Linked DNA regions of Homo sapiens: region 1 is linked to region 2. The links are contacts of gene promoters, found by promoter capture Hi-C in blood cells and fetal thymus (Javierre and others, 2016). All regions are on one chromosome and are shown on one strand. The core of a region is centred on a gene start or on the middle of the fragment in contact, and the rest is flanking DNA. Distances in the headings are between cores, read along the strand shown.

Evidence for each region. Contacts are between HindIII fragments. The CHiCAGO score rates a contact against its expected background, and 5 or more counts as called.
Region 1: the fragment with the promoter of CLPTM1 here is called in contact with the fragment with the promoter of FOSB in region 2 in 2 of 17 cell types (naive CD4 T cells and activated CD4 T cells); the score reaches 5.3 in naive CD4 T cells.

Annotation. Positions count from the first base shown.
Region 1 is chr19:44,953,988-44,957,054 of GRCh38, reverse strand. It overlaps CLPTM1 (CLPTM1 regulator of GABA type A receptor forward trafficking), which reads right to left and starts at 1,675. Exons shown (of 14, transcript NM_001294.4): 1 at 1,588-1,675. The coding sequence starts at 1,659. RefSeq lists a silencer at 1,423-1,752. The HindIII fragment of the contact is 4,299 bases long and covers 1-3,067 here.
Region 2 is chr19:45,466,617-45,469,316 of GRCh38, reverse strand. FOSB (FosB proto-oncogene, AP-1 transcription factor subunit) reads right to left here and starts at 1,321. Exons shown (of 4, transcript NM_006732.3): 1 at 605-1,321. The coding sequence starts at 730. RefSeq lists an enhancer at 319-1,220 and a silencer at 1,405-1,684. The HindIII fragment of the contact is 2,687 bases long and covers 228-2,700 here.

The DNA.
Region 1 (3,067 bases), core at 426-2,925, 510 kb after region 2:
GGTTGTCACAACTGGGGAGGGGCGTGGATCCTACTGACATCTAGTGCGTAGAGGCCACGGATGCTGCTAAACATCCTAAAATGCACAGGGCAGCCCCCCAAACAAAGCATTATCCAATTCAAAATGTTGATAGTGCCGAGCTCGAGAAATCCTAGTCTAGTCTGAAGAAAAGTGTCGGATCGTGCAAGACTGTGATTTATTAAAGAATTTGTACTTTGTCCTAAAGGCAAAGGGGTAACTCTTGATTGTTTTTAAGCAGAGTTGGTACAAGAGAAGATCAGAGTGCCATCTGGAAGCTCAGGGCAATGAGAACAACCTGGGCCCTGGTCTCTCAAGCCACCATCAACCCAATAATCAACAGAAACCCAGAGGGGAAACGACCTCCTTTCAGCAAGACTGGGAAACCCTTGAAGACAGGAACTGAGCCTTCATTCCAGCACTAACTCAACAAACATTTCCTAAGCTGTCCCTGAAGCCAGGCCCTGGCTGAGAATGCTGAAAAGATTCAGAGCAGATACAGTGGGCTCTATCACACAAATTTCATCCATGTGTCCTACCCAAGTGATACCACTTGCTCTTTCTCTGGGCTCCCCCAGTCCCTGACACAGACTTTTGTCACCAACCTAATCATTCAGGATTACAACTGTTTACATGTCAGTCTCCTCTCTTCGTCCCCTGACAGCAGGGATATGGCTGGCCCTCCTGTCCAACCTCTGCATTTAACACGGGAGAGATAAAGGCCTAAAGAGGGAAAGGAACTTGCCCAAGGTCACACAGAGAGTCAGCTTCATTCTCCCCTCTCAACCCGCACTCCTTTCCCCTGAGCTGCCTCCCACATGTCAGTGACATCCCAGTGGGTGGGTCGACAGCACCTTCATGTCTCTCCATCTATTCCCCAAATGCCTGAACGGTAGCTGCCTGAAATGGTATGCTCTGCAGTGTGTTAAGACAGCAGTGGGGCAGAAGTCATCCGCACCAGGACTAATTAACCCATAGAACTATTTTACATTAAAACCACAACCATACCAGTCCCTGTGTCAGCAGTGTCTTGTAACTTCTACATAAAGTTACAAACCTAACCAGGATGACCTTCTAGAAGCGCCTTAGTCTCACTGTTCCTTGAATTCCCGTCTGTAAAATGGGTCTGTCGGCCGTGCCCTGCTAATACTGACTTCCCCACAGCTAGAAAACTCCCAATTAATCACTGCGCACACCTCAAACACTACAACGAGACCTGAACGCCAGACCACTCTAGGAACGGCCTCAGAGCATGGAATCGCGGAGTTGAGAACCCAGCGCGCCAAGGTACAAGCCTGCGCCCCTCCGAGCCACTGTCTCCCCGGATCGAGCAATGAGCCTGGTGGCCGCCCGGCTCGAGCGTGCAGGGGAACCGACCCGCAACAGGGCCCTGTTCCCGGCACCGTCCGGCCTCCCGGGCGGTCCGGCCCTGCCTGGGCCGGGTATTCAAGGTCCCTCTGGCCAAGGAGCCCCCAGTGCACGGGATTCCGTGACAAGAGGTAGGACACGCCCCGTGGGAGGCCCCCCGGCTGGGGAAGAACCCCCTCAGTCCCCTCTCGGCCTCCGTACCTGACCGGAGCTGCCTCCCCCGGCCGCCACCACGGCGCTGCGGGCCCCGTCCGCCTCCTGCGCCGCCGCCATCTTCCCGCTCCGGGTCCCCGCCCCCGCCGCCAGCCCCGCCCCGTCCCCGACTTCGCAGCGCAATCGCGCGAGATTTCACGCTTTCCTAGCCCCGCCGGGCCACCCTATCCGGCAAGAGTGCCGCAGCCACGCCTCTCAGGAAGGCCACTTCCGGCTATGGAAGGACCAACCTGGCCACCGTACTCGTCTTTCTCCCAGCCCGTTTGTTTCCACCTAATAAAAACACTGTATGCTCCGAACTCCAGGACTTTCTCGGCCAGCATGTGCCTCCCGCAAGTTCTGTCCCTTCCGTCCCTTCACATTAACCCGCCTTTTCGGTTATATGAGCCTTTCGGGACATCCTGTCCGCTTCTCCCTGCCGATTCTTCGCGTCCTTTTCGTTCCATGTTTCTTGAGCTTTACCGGCCACTGTACGGCTTCGAACCACGCCCCTCTTTCGTCAGAGGAACCTTTCTGGCCACCGTATTCTGATTCGAAGAACTAGCCTTTTGCCCAGCACCCTTGTCTTCTGACCCCTCTTCCTAAGACAACTCTTTCGTTCAAGTCTCCTGAGCTCATATCCTTTCTGTGTTTTTAGAGTTCCAATTCCAGGGGTCTTACGGCCAACAAACCTCCGATGAGACCCTATGATACACCCCCAAGCCTTCGGACTGCCCTGCCTAGCACGCATGCGCGTTCCCTCAGTGGTCCAAACCTCGCATCCGTGGGCTAGGCTTCACGGGCTCTGAGAATTCCACAATTTTTCATTAGCTGTGTGTCTTCGTACAGCTCTAAACCCGGCCATCTGCTGAGAGACCCTTAGTTTGGAGAGGGTGTTACGGAGGCCCAGAGAGGACAAGACTCTCAGAGGCTGTTAACTGTTCACCCGTGAAATTGGGTGGATGTCTGGCCAGGGTTCTAACCCTTGTGGTGCTACTGACTGGATAAGATATCCTGGACAAGTGACGTCTCTCTCTCTCTTTTTTTTTCTTTTTTAGACGGAGCCTCACTCTCCCCCAGGCTGGAGTGCAATGGCGCGATCTCGGCTCACTGCAACCTCGGCTCACTGCATCCTCGGCCTCCCGAGTAGCTGGGATTACAGGAGCACGCCACCACTCCTGGCTAATTTTTTTTTTTTTTTTGAGACGGAGTCTCGCTCTGTCACCCAGGCTGGAGTGCAGTGGCGCGATCTCGGCTCACTGCAACCTCTGCCTCCCGGATTCAAGCAATTCTCCTGCGTCAGCCTCCCATTTTTTTTTTTTTTTTGTAAGTAGAGACGGAGTTTCACCGTGTTGGCCAGGCTGGTGACAAGTGACATCTATGTTTGAGCCTCAGTTTCTCCCCTTTTATAAACCAGGGATATAATCGTACTCGTTCTTCGTCTTCCCGTTTTGCCCCGCTGTGTTATTGGGAAGACGTAGTTAGATGG
Region 2 (2,700 bases), core at 72-2,571:
GGGCGGGGCGGACGAAGGGGGCGCCGCGCGCCGTGCGTGCCCCGCGTCAGACGGAGGATTCCAGCGCGTCAGCCGTTACGCACGGGTCCCCCGTTACGTCTCCGCGCAGGAGGCGGAGGCAGCGCGGCTGAGGGTTCGAGGCCCCTCTTCCCGATGGGTGGAGGGCGACCCGGCACCGAAGTGGGCGCTCCGAAGGAGGAGGAAAGGAAAAGAGACTGCTGGAAGCTTCCCCGGGATTTCCCCCACCTGCCTAACTGCGCTAGCTTCAGGTCTGGGACCCGAGCAGGGGGCAGTCCCGGGGCCGGCTCAAAGTTCTCAGCCCCGCTACCGCATACACGTTGCATTGAGCAGCGCATTACCCACCCCACCCCCACCTCGCCCCAAAGCCTACCCTCCCTGCCGCGTTCCCTCCTTGCGCTCCACGCACGCAACCAATTGCAAACATCTCCCGACTCTTTGCAGTTTGCAAAGTGCGCTGTGAGCCTTTTCCATCTCAGATCTAGGGTTCTGATGCGCCTTTTTGTGGGGGTTGGGGTTTATTCTTTTCACCCTTGACTTAAAAAATAAAACCTACAAAGCAGCACCCCTACTATCAAAAACTTACCTGGGAGGCGGCGGCGGTGGGTGGACTGCCGAAGGAGTCCACCGAAGACAGATATTGAGACTCGGCAGAGGGTGAGGAGCTGCACCGGGAGCCGGAGTCGTAGTCTCCGGGGAAAGCCTGAAACATTTCCCTGGGCACAGGGGGGCCCCTGTGACCACGCTGAGGTCGCCGGGAAGCCAAGGCTATGGCCGGGTTGGGGAAGTAAGGTGCAAGTCCGGGGTGAGCCGTGGGAGTCCCCGGTGAGCTGAGCGAGTCCTCAAAGTACGCTGTCCGGGGAAGCTCGGGGAAGGAGCAACGTCCCGTTCCAACAATGGCAAAGTTTCTGTGCAGTCTTCCTGCGGTGCCCAGGCCCCCACAGGATGCCGCTGTACCTCTTGAAAGTGCAGGCTCCGTAGGACCCAGGGGCGAGGGAGGGGTTGCTCCCCCAGGGGCAGAAAGCGCTGTCCCGCTGTACAGAATCAGCTTCAGCTACGGTCTCCTCCACGCGTCCGGCGGGTCCCACGGGGGGAGGGGAGTAATAAAGAAGACCAAAAAAAGTAAGTCGGTCCTCCAAAAGAAAATGAAGAAATATCTGGAAGAATCTTTCCAAAAACTTTCTCCCCGGAAAAAAAAAGATTAATGAAATTTCATAACCCCCAAGAAGAACCACAACAATCAAGTTTCCAAGTCTTGGTTCCGCGTGTCCCTGCCGTGGCCGTAGCTCTGAGTCTTATGAATGAAGCACAGACCCGCCAGCCTGTATTTATATGCCCGGGACCCGCCCCCCTGCTTACGTCACCCGCCCCTTGCTGGACAAACTTCCCCAAATCTCCGGCCCCGCCAAATCGAGTCCCGCACTGTCCAGCAAGAGGTCTGTTCTAGACTCGATCTGGTCACTTGCATGACCCTCGGGGCCCTGGGGGTCTCGGGGGTTGCGTTCCGGGCCACTCGGCGGGAGGGGATCCCGGCCCCGCCTTCCCGGAGTTCCTGTGACGCAATTAGCCATATAAGGAGCTCGGCCGGCGCGGCGGAGTGTTTGTTTGGTATCCTAGCAATGACGTCAGAGGGAATCCCTCGCTCGCTCGCGCGCGCGCCCGCGCCCCGCCCGCGCCTGCGCAGTGCAACGCCGCCCCGGGGGCTGGTAATAATAGGCGCTTAGACTAGCCCCGCAGGGACCCCGCTGACCCGGGCGGGGAAGACCCCAGCCTGCAGGTCCCCTTCACCTCTGGCGCCCCCACCTACCCTGTTCTACCGATGGTGCAGCGCCCCCATTCGAGAAGAAGAGCAGATCTCCAAAAGGAGACCCTGATTAGTGTGGTGTGGTCACGTAGGTGGGGAAACTGAGTCCCGAGCGGGCTGTGATGCTCAGGTGAAAGTGGAGGTAATGGAGGGATTCCGAGGCTCGTCCTGGTTTCTGTCCTGATTCGCTGTGCGAGCTTAGGAAATGTTTTCCCTCTCTGAGCTTTAGCTTTAATCTTCCCCGCTGGGCAAAGGATGTGTGTCTTGGACCCTGCTGGCCTTACAGGTCCGGCGTTTGGGAGGGATGCGGATTTGGAGGAGATGGGAAATGAAACTTAGAGAGAAGCCTCTCTTCTGATGGTGTTGGTAGCCTCTCCTTCCACCTTTTAATCCACCCGGAGACAAAGAATGTGTAAGAGGGAGGGGATATTATTATTAATTCTAATAATAATAATTAATGCCTTGTATTTGGCACTTGCCAAGCACAGCTCCTGTGCTACGCCTTTCAGTAGAAGATTTGTAATCCTTAAAACAGCTCTGGAAGGTTAAGAGAGAAAAATCTTCATTTTATAAAAGAAAAAAATGATACTCAGGGAGGTTAAATGACTTGCCCAAGATCCCATCACAAGAAATTCAAACTCAGAATTGTCAAACTCCAGATTTCCTACCCTTTCCATTTCTTTTCTGATTTCTGAGACCTGCCTGGTTGGATGAAACTCCCTGAAAAACCTGTGTCTGGGGTTTTTTTAAATGATAATGGCAATATTAGTAGCTTTCACTTGTCAGGTCTTTTTTTTTTTTTTTTTTTTTTTTTTTTTGAGACGGAGTCTTGCTCTGCCGCCAGGCTGGAGTGCAGTGGCGATCTCGGCTCACTGCAA